2 separate regions of the Homo sapiens genome follow, and region 1 is linked to region 2. The links are contacts of gene promoters, found by promoter capture Hi-C in blood cells and fetal thymus (Javierre and others, 2016). All regions are on one chromosome and are shown on one strand. Each heading gives the region's core, a stretch centred on a gene start or on the middle of the fragment in contact. The rest is flanking DNA. Distances are from core to core; before and after follow the strand shown. Region 1 overlaps MITF (melanocyte inducing transcription factor). Region 2 holds the start of UBA3 (ubiquitin like modifier activating enzyme 3).

What was found. The method cuts DNA at HindIII sites, captures the fragments that hold promoters and counts their contacts. A CHiCAGO score of 5 or more calls a contact.
Region 1: a fragment that was not itself captured here is called in contact with the fragment with the promoter of UBA3 in region 2 in 1 of 17 cell types (M1 macrophages); the score reaches 5.1 in M1 macrophages.

The regions. Positions count from the first base shown.
Region 1 is chr3:69,768,307-69,773,730 of GRCh38, forward strand. The region is part of intron 1 of MITF (melanocyte inducing transcription factor); the gene reads left to right. It also overlaps the pseudogene RN7SL418P. Among named protein-coding and RNA genes, the nearest start is that of MITF, 32 kb to the left of the region's middle. RefSeq lists an enhancer at 1,111-2,310. The HindIII fragment of the contact is 1,963 bases long and covers 2,038-4,000 here.
Region 2 is chr3:69,076,487-69,081,794 of GRCh38, forward strand. It overlaps UBA3 (ubiquitin like modifier activating enzyme 3), which reads right to left and starts at 3,879. Exons shown (of 18, transcript NM_003968.4): 1 at 3,848-3,879; 2 at 3,626-3,667; 3 at 1,312-1,432. The coding sequence starts at 3,867. RefSeq lists silencers at 3,358-3,587, 3,708-3,797, 3,918-3,987. The HindIII fragment of the contact is 3,356 bases long and covers 1,782-5,137 here.

The DNA of each region.
Region 1 (5,424 bases), core at 1,769-4,268, 690 kb after region 2:
GCATGCTTGCATGTACACACACAGACACATGCTCACATACACACCTTCCTCCCCTAATAAAAGACACCTGTCTTCACTCCATAGATTGACAAGCATCTAGAATAAGGCATATGAGGATTCCCATAAGTAAATCTGCTCCAAGAAAAGTTCTAGATATCTTCTCATATTTTCTGAACATGATATTTTACATGGAAGAATCCGGGCTGTTGAGTTCCTGATCCAAGAAGAAAAGTCTTCCATACATAATTTGGCTTTGGTGGCTGCTTCAGATTAGCCATTCTATCTGTGTTCCAGGTTATTACCGGTGTTTGGAATTCATGTGCAGAAGCAAGAATTTGCCTTGAGGCAGCAAGACTGGTAGACACTAGATAAGTGGCTTATTTTAAAGTGATGTTTTGGTACAGAAATGGCAGTAACAACAAATTCCTCCCCCTAATAGAAATCTTCCTCACATTCCCTATCCAACCCAGAATCATTTATAATAATGTGGAGTCAAAATTCAGCTGAATGGGTTTGATACAAATTCCTAGGAAGCCATTGTAAGTTCAAGCACTGTGTTTTAAAGATGAAGCATTCAAATTTATTAGGATGGTAATTGCAGCTGATGTAGGTGGGGAGGGCATGTGTCCCATTTTGCATGATTTGGAGAGGCAATAGCTTGTTGAGACTAAAACTCTGGAGTAGGACTGTTCTAGGTTTGAATCTCAGCTGCACTGATTGGTGGCTGTGTGAGTTTGGGCAAATCACTAAGATTCTCTCTTCACCTGTAAAATGAAGTAGTGGGTAAGCATGTAAGTCCTTTGTTAAATTTGCCAAGGTTTGAGTCTTTGTTGTACTACTGTATGACATTGAGCAACTTGTTCTCTTTATATCTTGGATTTCTTATCTGTAAAATAATAATAACAGTAATAATAACAATAATGATGATGATAATAATAATTATGGTCCCTACCTCATAAGGATGTGGCAAGAATTAAATGAGATTATGCACACATAGGGTTTTCATCTTGGTAGTCTGGCACCTAGTTAGCACTCATATCTTACTCAACTATTTTTCCTGCCATCATTATATTGAGCTTTCTAAAAATTATTATTTTTTGACTACTTATTTTGTTCTTTCTGAAAGTTAGGGCTTCACAAAGTGTAGTCGTTGCTATGTGATTTCTTTTTTTTTCCTTTTTGATACGGGGCCTTGCTGTGATGCCCAGGCTGGAGTACAGTGGCTATTCACAGGTGCAATCCTAGTACTAACCAGCACGGGAGTTTTGACCTGTTCCATTTCTAACCTGGGCTGGTTTACCCTTCTTTATGCACCTTGGTGGTCCCCTAGGAGGTCACCATATTGATGCCGAACTCATTGCACTCACCAGATCAGCAAAGTGCACTACAGCCCGGAACTCCTGGGCTCAACTGATCCTCCTGCCTCAGACTCCTGAATAGCTGGGACCACAGGCATGTGCCAGTGCCTTTTCTTTCTTTAAACTGGAGACTCAATAATGCAATTTCTGAATTTGGGGCAGAGTTGCCAGATAAAATCCAGAATGTCCAGTTAAATTTGGATTTCTGATACAGAATAATTGTTTACTATAACTTTGTTCTAGATATTTCATGGGATAGCGAGACTAAAAAATATTCTTTATTCATCTGAAATTCAATTCAACTGGGCATTCTGTATTTGCTAAATCTAGCAATGCTAGTTTGGTAGTAAAACATACTCCTTTGCCCTCTCATTCATTTTTTCACTCAGATAGATATTTGTGTATGCTTATAAAAATGCAGTGAACAACATCCTTGGGGCATAAGTATAGAAATAGTTTCATAAATTTGAAAAAAGATTTCTTAGTATCTCTGGTAAATCTACCTCCTAATTCCTTCTCCCTGTGTAAGCCATGGGACCATCAAATTGAGATTATGTTGATACTTGAGTATATAGTATGATGTTGCTTGAAAATTCTGAAATGTTCTAGTGTTGCTTTTACCTAAAGGGAATGATTAATGGTGACACATTAATGGGTATGCATTCCAGAGAATCCTGAAAGCTTTGTCATTTTTGAAGGAAATTACCTCATTACTTTTAGAGTCACCTATCCAGGGTAGGTTGGTCCCTGTGGTTGACCTGGTTTTCCAAGTAGGAAAATAAACACTTCAATGGTTAGGTTAATAACTTGGAGTGATTTTGTTGTACTTACAATTCAAGTTAATTTTTAAGTAGGATTGGTCTTTAAGCTACTAGACTAGTTGGAGACTCTGAGAGAATTGCATTCTAAGAGTGAGATCCTTTCAATTCAATCAGCATTTACTGTGTATTGACTGTGCAAAAGCAACTGCATATGAAGAGAGAGGAATTTAAAGTGTTTTGAGTTCCTGCTCTCAAAAACCTTAGTGTTTAATGGAGCACGAAAGCAAGAAGCAATTATGACAAAAGGCAAGATAAATAAGGTCAAAATTGAAGTCTAGTAAAGCTAGGTCCCAGGATGGTTGAATGTAGGAAGTGGTTAAATCTGGAGGCCAAGTAGAGTAGGAATGGCTTTTATTAGGACAGGTTTCTTTGAAGGTAATATGTGAGAGAACTATTCAAAGATAAGAATGATTTCATTTGGGAAATGAAATGTTCTAGGTGTGGGCTTAGCATTAACAAGTATCCGAAGGTGGCCACATTTTGAAATGCACGTGTTACTTAGACATGACAAAAATATATACAGCACCACCGTAACTGACAGCAACCGCTTCTCTCATGTGTGACTGTTTATGATCTAGAATTTCCAGATCAGAAACTTGATTTTATGTAGGTGGACCTGGATTCATTCCATGTTGGTTTCCTAAGTATTTATTGTGCACCTGCTGTTGCTATGTATGAGACAGCCAGAGAGACTTGGGCAACATTTAGGAATTCTTTTAGGTGGTCACTTAAACCAACTGAAAGTTACTCCGTTTAAACATGGGTTTTTTTTTTTTTCCTGAAATGAACACTTCCAGTGAGCTCTGATTTAAATTGGGCAAAATCAACAGCAAAAGAATTCCATGAGAAGCATCTTGTCAGGCGCTCTGACTTTGAGTATTTGCTTAAATGACTTTACAAGCCAGCTTAACTCATTTCCTGTTGGATGACACTTGTTTATTAAACTTGGCCCAAGTCAGAGTTAATAGCCTTAATGGTTTTGAATGGTCCCAAGTGATTCTCCAGCAGTGTGTCATTAGTGAACGGGGAGGATTCTACAGATAGGATGCAACACACACATAGCTGCTTCAGCCATCATAGATTTAAGAGAATACCTATAGCCCTCTTAAATTTAGCTAAGGAAATTGAGAATACTGGAAAGTAAGTGTTACCATTGCAGTAAATGCTAAAATATTTTTCAACAGTTCTAGTAGTTTTCCTTTTTTGTTTTTTTGAAATACTTCCATGTGAAATTAATGCCATTTAAAAATGGCACCAGCATTCAGAACTTGAATCATCCCAAATTCTCTAGCAAATGAATTAAAATGTGACATGGGGTTCATGTTGATTAACAGATGTGTGTAGAGAATTGGACTGGGTAGCCTGCCATCGCGATGCATGCTTGATGCATGAGAGGGATTGCTAAGATTGGGAATGGAAAACTTTTCTACTTTTCCATTTATGTGTGTGTTGGGCTATAAAGCTCTAAATTAGACTGGAAATTGGTGATGCATTTGGAGATCGTTGGTTTTTAATTTTCATCAATTAGGATTGATGTATGTCTTTTAAGTTTGGACAAGTTGTTCTTTGTGGATGATTTTGCTATTTCAGGTACTGGTGGGGTAAGAGTAGCCTGGATGCAAACCTTTATTGGGTTCTTAAACATGAAAGAGCATAAACTGCTTATGTTAGTTTGGGTCTGGTTGAATGTTATTAATTTTTTTTCCTTGATGGCCAGGCCAAATATTATGTAGTTTTAATATCTACCCTTGGTTCCTACTGCCTTATTTTTGGGCACTCTTAATATCTTCCTTTATATATCTGTCATTAAGTTATAATTGAAGCTTCATGTTTTATATTTAGAATGGTGCATGGAGGCTCAGCTGTGCCAGCCATTCAGGCCTAATGGCAAATGTTGGTTCATGCCAGAAAGTTTTTGGAGTCTAGTCTCTTTTTTGGGATGTCCAATCTAAGCAAACCATCCTTTTCTGTCTTAAGCTGAGGGGCACAGGGAAGCAATTTAGAAGTGATTTCCACTTCTGTGCATGTGACAGCATCTTGTTTCTGATAAAAATTATTTACTTGCTAGTTCACTCTTTAACCCAGAGAGTCATGCAGCCTTAAAAGGGATTGCTTTGACAAGTCTTTATGTCACTTCATTCCTTAGTTTACTGACTTCCATGCGGAGTATCAGTGAGTGTCAGTTAAAAGTGGGTACATAGTGATAGTAGATGACACCCATGCCACCAGCTGCTTCCTATGGGCTGCCAGATGCTAGCAAACGTTTCACAGCTCTTGAATTCTCTGGATTTGGGCCACTCTTGAACTCTATCCATCAATCCATACACCCACTTATTGAGCTAATATTTATTGAGGTTTTACTATGTTTCAGGAAGTTGTCTAGGTATGAGGAATACAGCAGGGCACCAAACTGTTGAAAATCTTTGTATTCATGGAACTTACATGGGCAAGCAGATGTAGAAATAAATATGTGAATGAGTAAAATGCATAATATGCTAAATGCTGGTAAGTGTTATAGAGAACGATAAAGCATGGCTGGGTTTGGGGTGACTTGTAATTTAAAACTGAGTGGACAAGGACTGCCTCACTGAGAAAATGACATTTGAGAAAAGACCCAAAGAAGATGAGGGAGTCATGCCAGTATTTGGGGGCAAAGCACAGCAGACAGAAGGAAGAGTAAGTACATAGTATCTGGACAGGAGTGAGTCTACTTCAGTAACAGCATCATGGCCACAGCGGCTGGACCAGGCTGAGCAAAGTGGGGAGTTCCAGGAATGGCAGGAGGTGGGGTCAGTGAAGGAATGGGATTGGGGCAGAGGCAGACACTGTAAGGGTTTGCAAAGACTTTGCCTTTTACTCATTAAAAATTGGGAGCCGTTGCAGATTTCTAGCTAAAGGAGTAGCATGATCTGATTAATTCAGGTAGCAGCCCAGTGTGGTGGGGGAAAACAGGGGTCTGTGAATTTGGAGATCATGTAAACCACGGTTTTGTCACTAGGTAGGGGCAAATAAATTCAGCATCCTTAGCTTCAATTTTATTCCTTCTTATAAAACAATGCTTGTGGGTTGGATAGTTTTTCATGACCTTCCAGGTTTTGATACTGTTACCCTGGATTAGTTGCCTTCCTGTGAGTATTTCATGTGTATGGCTGATTACATTTCTCCTTGAGTATGCATAGCTGGACCACAGATTTGTAAATTATCTTTCTGTGCTTTATTTACTTAAAAAATTTTCCATAAACATC
Region 2 (5,308 bases), core at 2,629-5,128:
GATCACACCATTGCATTCCAGCCTGGGCAACAAAAGCAAAACTCCATCTGCGGCAGATGGAAGGGGAAAGAGTAACAGCTGCTTTTTTTTTTCCTTTTTGAGACAGGGTCTCACTGTGTCACCCAGGCTGGAGTGCAGTGGCATGATCAGAGCTCCCTGCAGCCTCCACCTCCAGGTGCAGTCAAGCAATCCTCCCACCTCAACCTCCTGAGTAGCTGAAACCAAAGACATGTATCATCATGCACAGCTAATTTTTTTTTCTTTTCTTTTTTTCTTTCTTTTTTTTTTTAGAGATGGGTTCTCTCTATGTTGCCCAGGGTGGTCTGGAACTCTTGGGCTCAAGTGATCCTCCCGCCTTGACCTCCCAAAGTGCTGGGATTACAGGCGTGAGCCACCTTACCTGGCCAACATCTCCTTTTGAATAAAGTGAGCGAAACTCACAAAACATGAGATAACACGAAAACATATAAAACTCTTAGAAAATTCCTTATCAGCAGAAATACAATCATTTAACAGAAGTAACAATCTTAAATTATCAGGCAAAAAAAAAAATTTAGAAGCACAAGAAAATATGGTGTGTTATCTAAAGAAAGACAGAATTAATACTTTCAATTCTTTTTCTTTTTTTTTTTTTTATTTTTAATGCTTTCAGTTCTGCCCAGCATTAAAGGAGAAAGTTATTCACATGAGACACTGGGCCAAACCAAGAGTTTGCACGTTAATTTATGGGAGTAACACAATATTTCTATTTCAAAATACTATCTTTTTATAAATACAAAAGCACATAAAGATGTGCTATACTTTTCCCTACCCTGTAATAAAAAAAAGTGACATATAAGTGAACACTTGCCTTAAGATAGACACTATCAGTCCAAAATTCTACGCCTCTATTATTTAGTACTTACATAATTCTTAACATGCAATTAATTATACTCAAAGCTAAGATGTTCATTCCAACTAAATTTCAAAATTTAAGTAAGCACACCTATACTCCTATCAAAATTAATTTCTCACAGTAGCACTACAAAAGGGGAGTATGTTTCAGAAAGCATTTTAAATTTTTACATGAGGTCATGAAGTTAGATTTTTCTCACAAAAATTTTCAACTTATATTACATGAGAAATGTTAAGACTCAAATATTCAAACAAAATCAGTTGTGAATATTCAATCTCATATTTTAAGAAAAATTTAGTTTCACAAAACAATTTTATTAGTATTTTCATTGTAAGAGCAAATTAAAAAAGAAGCATTCTATTAGTTTTGAAACATAAAACTATTAGAGCAGTTATTTAAAAATAAACGTTTCTCACTTCAGTGCTCGGTTCGAAATCAGGGTGTGTGAAGGGTCCAGATCGCTCGAGGAACTTCTTTACATGGTTCCAGCGACCTTCCCAGTCTCCAGTGTCCCCACACCCACCATCAACAGCCATTCTGCACAGAACACAGTAAATTCAGCTGCAAAGATCAGTATGAAAAAAACCACACCTACAACTATTATGGTATCCCCAAATGAAAAGGTAACCACACCAGACCTGCTCAAATAAAAAGGAAAATATTCAATGTGATTATGTTTATGCTTTGAAATTTTTTCTTGCCTATTATACAATTCATTTAAAGTTAAGAACTGCACGTTTCTATTTTTATTTCACCCAATGGATGAAATAAATCAGTCTACATGTTTTTGGTTTCCTAAAGCAATCCAAGGTTCAACTTAGGATATTGGTCTATTATGTGAGAAATTGACTTCTCTACATTTGGTATTTACAAAAAAAACACTGCAAGCTTCCTCAATCTGTTGTTTCATCACACTTGCATTAGGAAATATGAGATACAACAGAGAAAAAAAGTCACACTTTCAGAATTCTGATGCTTATATGTCTGATGCAAATTTAATATTTATGTGTCCTTTCCAAAGGTGTAATCTAAAAATCACTTTGATGAGAGGAATTTTCACACACTTTTCTCAGAAATAAGGTTATTTTTTCTTTTTCTTTTTCTTTTTTTGTGACAGAGTCTCACTGTGTTGCCCAGGCTGGAGTGCAGTGGTGTGACTGCAGCTCACTGCAGCCTTGCCCTCCTGGGCTCAAGTGATTCTCCTGCCTCAGCCTCCCAAGTAGCTGTGCCTACAGGTACATGCCACCATACCCAGCCAATTTTTGTATTTTTAGTAGAGACGGGTTTCGCCATGTTGCACAGGCTGGTCTGAAACTCCTGAGCTCAAGTAATCCGTCCACCTCGGCCTCCCAAAGTGCTGGGATTACAGGCATGAGCCACCGAACCTGGCAGAGGTCTTAATTTTTTAAAGAATCTCTTAATGCTGTGGGACGGCTTTTCTTGCCACTAAACACAAAGTTTCAGATTACAATTACGCCACAGATAGACATCTACAAACCTTTTAGAACATACAACAGAATAAGGTGGGACTCCTCTACAAAATTCATCTATTTTATACTTAGTTAAGATTCACGTTTGGTTGTGATTATTTTTAATTTTCTAATTTCCTATAACTCCACAGTTTCTACCGTCAAATATATTAGTAATATCCAATTTTTACAAAAGGGACCAAGAAGTATTGCCTAGCAATAAAAACCATACGTTTTGATGTCAGAGTTGTGTTGGGTTCCACAATTAACAGCACTGTGACCTTGAGCAGATTACTTAATAGACATAAACCTCATCTGCAGGCCGTTCATAGCTACTTCTTTCAGCCATGAGGATATAGATAATCACACAGAAGACTCAGTACAGTACGTGGGATATGGTAAGCAATGTTTAATTGTGATTTCATGTAAAAGTGGGAGGGAAATAAAAGGCAGGAAAGAATGTGAAATTAAGTTTGTCATCCCGGTCCTCTTGCAGCTGAAATTCAACTGAGGGACACACATAAAGATCAAAGCACTGCTACTGGGAATCGGCACGGAAATTTACAAACTCACCATAACCAATGCAAGAGTATTTTTTCCCTGCCCAGGCAGGGAGGGGAGTAAATTATGTGGCGCTGGCCAGGTTAGAAAACACTTCGATTAAATCTGTCTCACCAGCATAGAATTAAGCATCTGATAAGAAATAGGGTGTGTAGTAAAAGGGATAAATAGGCTGTTTGAAGTCAACAACCTCTTTCCAGATCTTTTAAGAGCCAATTATTCTGCCAAAATGACTGGAGTGCTTAGTACAATACCTGACATGTAGAGTTATCATTAAAAGTTTGCAATTAGTACTACTGTCTCAGTGTTTGCAAAAGGCCACAAAACGGTCTTGTGTCCTTTTCCTGTGTGTTTAAGGTAGATTGCCTTTTCACAGGGTCACTGCTCTGACAATTTGGGATGGAGGAAGAGGAGTGCACAAGGGTCCTTCCTCAAGACCTTTACGTCAAGCACCCCGGAGGGCCCCTGCAGGAGCTGGGGCAGTACAGCCTGGCCCCGACGCCCGCACCGGGCAGATACCGGGAGCGGCCCGCCAGGCCCCCGGGGCTGCGGGGCGGGGATCAGGGGATGAGGCAGCGCGGCCTGCGCTCCGGGTGTCCCCCTCCCAGCCCCCCGGGCCCGCTGCGGCTGGTCCCCTAGGCCTGGGGTGGGGGGAGGCGGGGGTCCCCGGAGAGGGCCCCGGCCTCCCGGCAGCACTAACTTCTCAGCCAGCAGCTCCTCTATTCTCCTTCTTTTCTTCTCCCTAAAAGAGAGAATAAAAGAAGGGTCAGCATCGCGCTACACACTGGGCGCCGCGAGGGGAGGGGGGCGAGGGGACGGGGCGGGGGGTGTGGGGACCCCGGGTGGCGGCGGCAACCGCCCACCGCCGCGCTCTCTCACAACCCAGCCCAGCCCGGCGCGTCTGCAGAGCCCCGGTACTTACGGCTCCTCGCCATCCGCCATATTGTTCTCCGCCTCTTCCCAGGTGCCCACGCGCGGCAGGGCGGGGAGGAGCGGGACTGGCAAAGCGGGGAGGGGCGGGGCTGGCGAAGCGGGGAGGGGCGAGGCCAGAAACACAACCGGCAGGGAGGTGCGAGGTTGACTGCGGCTGGGCTCCCATGGGCTTTAAAGTCTTGCCCTGTAATTATAATCTTAATTACCTACGCTTAATTAGGTGAATCTTATACCGTGCATAATGTTGCTCTGCAGCGTGAAAATGTAGACAATACATTATGCGTTTACACAAACTATATGTTAATACGTAATTATACAAAATATTGGTATATTCTATGAAAAATTCGTGAAGAACCCTCCCAGTATGCCAGAGCTTTCCTCTGGGGGCAAAGATCAAGGAAATTTTCACTTTCTGCTTTTCAGGATGGTTCCAAAGTCTTTGCCTTTATAAGTACTCACTTGAATAATAAATTTATCTAAATCCGTTTACATTGGTGGGGTGGGAGATTATTATTTTCTTTGAACAAATCAGCATTAATATTTTCATGTCACATTCTGTTAGATAAGTTCAGCGGAAACAAAATGATTAAAACTTTTCCTGAGATAAATGTGTATATTTAGATACAAAGAAAAAAGTATAAAGGAAAACAATCACAAAAATCAAAGAATAACTGAGAACACCCATAATCCTATCACCTAAAGATAAATTGTGATAAAAGTTTCAATTATTTTCTTCTAGAGTCAGAAATACAAATATACACTGTGAATCTGGATGGCTGGATAGAGGGAAATGATCATGTTCAAAAATGTATGTATATACACGTACACACACATCTCCTTCTATGGAGTGGGACAAGAATGATATTTGGAATCAAAAGTAACTGATTTTAAATTCTTCTCAGTTGTGAGCTACGAAACCCTTAGACACTTCTATTTCTTCATTTATAAAGTGGGCATAACACTATTCACCTTGTAAGACTGATAATTAAGTAAAATCCAGAGTGGCTCTCAAAATACAGTTCCTGATCAACATCACTTGGGAAGTTTTTTTTAACACAAATTTTCACCCCTCACCGCCCCCACCACGCTCCCCACCGCCCCCCCGCCACCCCACCCTTCAGCCTTCTGCAAAGCCTGGGGTGATTCTCCACTGGTAAAGTTTGAGGGCCACTGAAATGGAGTACATAAAGCCTGATGGGTACTCAGTAAATGTAGCTGCTGTTACTACACTGTGATATTTAACCTCCTCTTGTCCTAGTTTTCAGTGAACCTTAAGGAAAGCTTGTCCTTTATGGTCCCCCAATTAGGTTCAGTTCAATAGCATTCACTGAGCTGAAAGTCAATGCCAGGCAGTGAGCGTGGGAATAGAGTTCACAGTCCCTATCAAGAGATACCAGCCTCCTTCTGCATCACATGTCTCAGCGTCAACTATGAAACTACTTTTTCTTGC